2 separate regions of the Homo sapiens genome follow, and region 2 is linked to region 1. The links are contacts of gene promoters, found by promoter capture Hi-C in blood cells and fetal thymus (Javierre and others, 2016). All regions are on one chromosome and are shown on one strand. The core of a region is centred on a gene start or on the middle of the fragment in contact, and the rest is flanking DNA. Distances in the headings are between cores, read along the strand shown. Region 1 holds the start of SPTA1 (spectrin alpha, erythrocytic 1). Region 2 holds the start of MNDA (myeloid cell nuclear differentiation antigen).

Region 1 (3,167 bases), core at 640-3,139:
TTGTGGAGAATGATGGTTTTCAGCTTCATCCATATCCCTGCAAAGGACATGAACTCATCCTTTTTTATGGCTGCATAGTATTCCATAGTGTATAGGTACCACATTTTCTTTATCCAGTCTTTCACTGATAGGCATTCAGGTTGGTTCCAAAGGGCTAATATCCAGAATCTACAAGGAACTTAAACAAATTTACAGGAAAAAAACAAATGACCCCATCAAAAAGTGAGCAAAGGATATGAATAGACACTTCTCAAAAGAAGATATTTATGCAGTCAGCAAACATATGAAAAAAAGCTCATCATAACTGGTCATTAGAGAAATGCAAATCAAAACCACAATGAGATACCATCTCATGCCAGTTAGAATGGCGATCATTAAAAAGTCAGGAAACAGCAGATGCTGGAGACAATGTGGAGAAATAGGAATGCTTTTACACAGTTGGTGGGAGTGTAAGTTAGTTCAACCATTGTGGAAGACAGTGTGGCAATTCCTCAAGGATCTAGAACCATAAATACCATTTGACCCAGCAATCCCATTACTGGCTATATACCCAAAGGATTATAAATCATTCTACTATAAAAACACATGCACACATATGTATATTGTGGCACTATTCACAATGGGCCATACTATTTCTTTGGTCACAAGGTTATCACATGTTTGGCATTCTTGCTAAGATGATTCTGGAACAGGGAAACAGAACAAATAATGTTGATGGACTAAGAGAAGATTGACTAAAAAAATAAGGAGCAGAGTGCCATGATAATCATATTGATATGGATTTGACTATTTAAATACTTTCAAACCAAATCACCATAGAATGAAACTTTGTTTTTTAGGGACTGTTTTCTCACATAAAGACGGGTATGATAATACCTGCCTCACAGAATTTTTAAAGATTAGAAATTAATGTAAATTGATCATGTTAATATATAAATATTTCATAGATGTTGATTCTTTTCTCTTAAAGATAAAATAATTTCCTCTCCTTATCCCAACTTCAGACAAATATTCCTCAGTGCATGTGTTATAGTGCAGTCTCTAAAATTATGTTCCTGCCTTTACTACTAAATTTGACTTGAATATAATGAAACTATATGGAAAAGTAAAGTAATCCAGACTTTCAAGAAGAGAATGTAAAGGACTCTCAGTTTTTCTATGTGAGATCCAAGAACAGGGGAAACCACAAATGTAGAATCAAAATCTTCTCTTGTAGATCATGGAAGTTAGATTATTCAAGCTGCATTTACACTGGAATGAAGTTTGGCATGGATAGCCCCACTGGCTTGTAGAAAGGTCTAAGAGCATCCCACTATTTTCTTTTTGCTTGTTTGTTTCATTTTTGTAAGTTAGTCTAAAATAACTATGCCTATGGAAAAAGTCTACCTCTTTTTGTTCTCCATTAAAATTAATACATACAGTAGGATGATTTATACCATATATATCAGAAGTCAGCCATATTTTCAACTTTTTTGTGACATCATTGGTTTGTCAAATAAGGTATCCTAATTTTTGTTTTACAAAATATTAATGAACACATCATATAACTTTTTTTGTTCCTTCCATTTAAATGATTAAGAGTACAACTAAATCAGATTTTTAAAGACCAAATTGTTGAGGTTAGGAATAAAATCTTATTTTGTGAAAGACTCTCTAGAAAAAGCCAGGATAATTCGTTGACTTAAAGACTGTGAAAAATCTGCAGTTGAGTTGGATGAAGTTGTTGAGCTGTATTTCCTATAAATATATGGGGTTTTTTTTCTAATTTTTCATCCAAAAACCTTACTTTCATTTTTTAAGTCTTATTGAGTAACTTTGAAAGCCAGAGCCTCCCAAAACTGCTGAGTCACCCAGTATCTGTAAAACTTAGCAGTTGCCTCAGCTGAGTATGTCTTCTAAAGATAATGTCGATTGTGTATGGCTGATGGGATTCTAGGACCAAGCAAGAGGTTTTTTTTTTTCCCCCACATACTTAACGTTTCTATATTTCTATTTGAATTCGACTGGACAGTTCCATTTGAATTATTTCTCTCTCTCTCTCTCTCTGACACATTTTATCTTGCCAGGTTCTAAACCTTTAGGAAAAATGGAGCAATTTCCAAAGGAAACCGTAAGTACATATTTCTCTTCCATGCAATTTGTCATTAATATTATTAGGAAAGATGTTTCCTTTAAACTTTCTATACTATCTTTCCCAGGAACATTAATAATTATTTGGCTTTTAACAAATAGATAATTTTACTTTTAACTATTTTTTGTGAACAATAACCTTGAGCTTATGTCTGTGCAGCACCAAGACCCAGTAATGACTTAAGTCGGTTCCCAGAGAGAATAAGTAGGGAGATTGAAGCTAAATAACACCTAGTAACAACGTGAGTCTCCATGTAATGATCTAATTCTATAGCCATGCCAGTAATGGCAATTCACAGAGTAGCAATTATACTTAGGAGGAATAATGGGAGATTAAAATTTAAACTCTATATTAAACATTTTGGCTGAGGTAAGCTAGGGAAAATGGTATCCATATCCAGAAGAATGAAGGTGAACCCTATGGTGATTTTGCTGGATATTGTCACAAACAGGTTGGCTCCCACTCTGGGAAAAGGATACTTATATATTGTTTTAGAGTAAAAGTTTTTATATTTCAAAAATAAATTGCAGACATGCTAATAATTTGAAATTTGTGACAATTGGGCAGAAGATAGCTGAACTTTTGATTTATAGTGTTTGTGAGTAAAGCAAGTAAAGAGTAAATATATGAGATTTATTTTTAAGTATGAAGGAAACAAAATTTTCAAACTGTTGCATATATCATTAACTAAATTAATTGCAAGCCATTCTTAATTATTTATTAAATTAAGTTAAAAATAATAAGCACTTCTCAACACCTTTTTAGCCCTTGAAAGCAATAACATTATATTTCTTTTTATCTATCTGAAATTATGTGATTTTGCTGATTTAAACTTGCTCCATGATCAGTCCAATATAATTATATCTATAGAACTTAAATGCTAGCACAAATTTATGTAAAAAGTGAGGAGAGTCTTCTGGATAATCAAGAATTTTTAACCTAAACAGAAGCTATGTCTGGTTAAAAATTACGTAAATATACTACAGCTCTTCTGACAATAGTCCCTAGAAACTTCAGGATATCTGAATATAGGTCC
Region 2 (3,167 bases), core at 453-2,952, 150 kb before region 1:
ATGAAAAAAGCCAGTCACAAAAAGCACACGCTTACTGTATGATTAAACATATATGAAGAGTTAGAGTTTTTAAATTTATGGGGAAAGAAGGTAGAATGATGTTTGCCAAGCTCTGGAGGAAAGGGGAATGGTGAAATTGTTGGTTAACGGTTAGAGTTTTAGTTTTGCAAGATGCAAAGGCGTTCTGGAGGTTGGTTGCACAACAATATGAATGTATTTAATACTACTGAACTGTACACTTGAAGCTGATTAAGATGACACATTTTATGTTACATGTTTCTTAACACAATTAAAAGAAAACAATTATTATATTCAAAGCTTTCAGAAGCTTGGCAGTGAAAATATCCATACCCACAGCTCTTTGTGAAGAACTACTCATTATGAAAAGAAATAAATCTAAGAAATGTTGGAGGCCAAAAGGGAAGAAAGATCAAGCAAATACTTTAATTAGTGTTTTTACTATCTTAAAAATAAGTAAAGCCAGAGTCAAATAAAAGAAAACAGGAACTATATGAACATACTCTTAACAGGTGAAGTTGTATGTTTGGGGGACCAGAAGATGTGAGAGTTTGCTAAGGGGCTTGTCTTTAAGGAGAATATAGATTTTTTAAAAATAAGAAACTTGACAAGAAAGGAGAAGAAGAAAGCACAGAATAAGTGCTATAAATTGAAACAAAGTAAGATGGCAAAACCAAGTTAAAATATATACCTTTATAGAATTTGCATATCTGGACTAAACTCATCAACTAGGAGGAAAAATTTTCAATTTGGATTAAAAATAAATCCAGTCATATGTTGTTGACAAAGTACAAATAAAGCATAAGTTCACTTAAGTTTGAGAAAGAGCTGGAAAAGTTATATTCTTCAAACTCTAACTTAAAGAAAGACTTTTTAGGAAAAATAGTGTAGCTTAAAATAGGCTTAAGTCAATAAGTATCAGTACATAGTTTCACTACATAATGGTAAAGTATGCAACTTGGAAAAAGATATAATAATTTAAATTATATTATAAATATAATCTGTTATTACTTTATAAAGTAGCATATAGAAGTTTTTTCTTCTCTCTAAACACACACATAACATATATACTTAGATATACATATTCTATGTAAAAATATATGGTAGAAATCAAAAGAACTACAATGAGAAATTAACAAAATCACTATTAGAGTTGGAGATTTCACCACATCTCTCAGTTACTGAAAGAACAAGGTAAAAAATAGCTTAGATTTAGATTTAGATTTTTCAAACATAATTAACAAGCTTACTTAAGAAACTTTATCTTACTTAAATAGAATTTGGAATCCAACGTTTATAAACTCTTCTCAAGTACTCATGGAGTAATTAGAAAACATTCATATGTACAAAGCCATAAAAAAGTCAAAATGTATCCCAAAGTAGGAAATATATAATTGATTCTCCCTGTCTTTTCATTATACCTTGCCACAAAAAATGTTATCTATGACTGAGTAAAGCATAGACCATTTGAAAAAGAGAATTATTTCTTCTTACACTTGTTGTAAAATGAAGCATAAAATGAAACTGATTCATGAAAATGTAAAGATTATTTTTGAGTAAATGCTTGTAAAATTGAGAAATTAATGTGTGCACATGTCTATGCTTTTTAAAATAGAGATAAAATCATATAATAGAGATTTATATCCTGGTTTATTTTTTACTAAATATTACTTCATAATAATTTTCTTATCTGACTGTCTTGTCTTTTAACTTAGGCCCAAACCCAGTCACCAAGTCATCCTCCAGCCAAGAAAACCAAGTATCTCCTCTAAATATCAATTTATGCCAAAAGACACCCAAGAATTAATTTTTAAAACCTGCTGTAGACAAAATACATTTTTTTGGTTCATACCCCAATTGTGGTAGAATAAAAGATATCCATTTGCTACCTAGACAGTTAAAGCATTCAGTTCTCAGTTTTCTGAATATGATTGATAACAACACTTCTGGTCTCAGGCAATTATTCTCTACTGAGATGGTGTGGTTACCAACTAGATACCTAGATCTTTCTCTAAAGAACTTCCCAGAAATCTCACCTTAATGGATGCTTCTTCCACAATAGTCTTCAGAAATCCTGGAGTCACTGTCTTGTTTAGGACAGAATCACTGTCCGTAAAGCTTTGGAGAGATTAAACTGCAGACTATTTTAATCTTGTAAAGGGCTGAGAAATGAAAGCTAACAAGGAAAAATGGCACTTGTTAGAGCCACTCTCAATCTTGATTGTAGATGGCCTTCTTACACTGTCCTAATTCCTAACTAGAAAGAAGTTATGTAATCATGAAACAATTTTGAAGCCACGCCTATCAGCCTTTGTAGCTTTCTATTTCAGATGTCAGAGAAAGTGGTCAGTTCCTCTTTGTAGTAAGTAATCTCAGTCACAAGGAGAAATGACAGTAAATGGTGCCTCTTCTTCGCTTTTTTGACTTACAAATACTTGCTGAAAGGAGTTTCAAACTCAGAACTTTCTTATAAAGCTAACTTACATATAGGTCATTAGAAACCGGTAGCCGCTTGAATAAGGATCTTAATATAAATTGGGAAAGGCAAAACACCAAAGTTTCTCCCTCCTTTCCTGTTCACAGAGTGGCAGGAGCAGGAGATCTTGGTAGAGATGTCTATTGCTACCAGAACTTGACTTCATCTCTTGGATAGGGGTGGGTCTACTGTGAAATTGTTTTTGTTTAAATAGTACCTACATATTCACCCAGTTATTAATAACTGATACACCTGGAGCTTGACAGAGGCAGAAAGTCATTATGAATATGTAAATCCTTATTCAAATAATTTGAAAGAGTTTCATACTAGTTGCTCTCTTGAGTATAATAACTGAGCTGCCTTACCTTGATTATTAAATTCATGATTACTCATGCTTTTTGCATTATTTATGGATAGTTGGTTCATATCATGACTGAAACCTTGAACATTCTGGAACAGCACTGAAACTCTGGAATGATAGGGGGCCTGATAAACCCTTTGTACTGCAATTTTTTTTTCCTGTGAAGAACAGTGGGTGCACTACAAAGTATCATAACTCTGAATTGTCAAATGAATGGTATCAGTTAGCAGACAGTGCTGTGGTTACCAACTAGCTGATCTGTAAGCAAAATGTGGTCATGACTGGAAAAGGATCCCAAAACAGCTAATAGGG

Evidence for each region. Contacts are between HindIII fragments. The CHiCAGO score rates a contact against its expected background, and 5 or more counts as called.
Region 2: a contact is called between a fragment that was not itself captured here and the fragment with the promoter of SPTA1 in region 1, in 1 of 17 cell types (erythroblasts). The highest score is 5.8, in erythroblasts.

The regions. Positions count from the first base shown.
Region 1 is chr1:158,685,437-158,688,603 of GRCh38, reverse strand. It overlaps SPTA1 (spectrin alpha, erythrocytic 1), which reads left to right and starts at 1,889. Exons shown (of 52, transcript NM_003126.4): 1 at 1,889-2,110. The coding sequence starts at 2,087. RefSeq lists a silencer at 1-42. The HindIII fragment of the contact is 3,907 bases long and covers 1-3,167 here.
Region 2 is chr1:158,830,445-158,833,611 of GRCh38, reverse strand. MNDA (myeloid cell nuclear differentiation antigen) reads right to left here and starts at 2,261. Exons shown (of 7, transcript NM_002432.3): 1 at 2,055-2,261. It also overlaps a transcript of OR6N1 not described here. The HindIII fragment of the contact is 873 bases long and covers 1,266-2,138 here.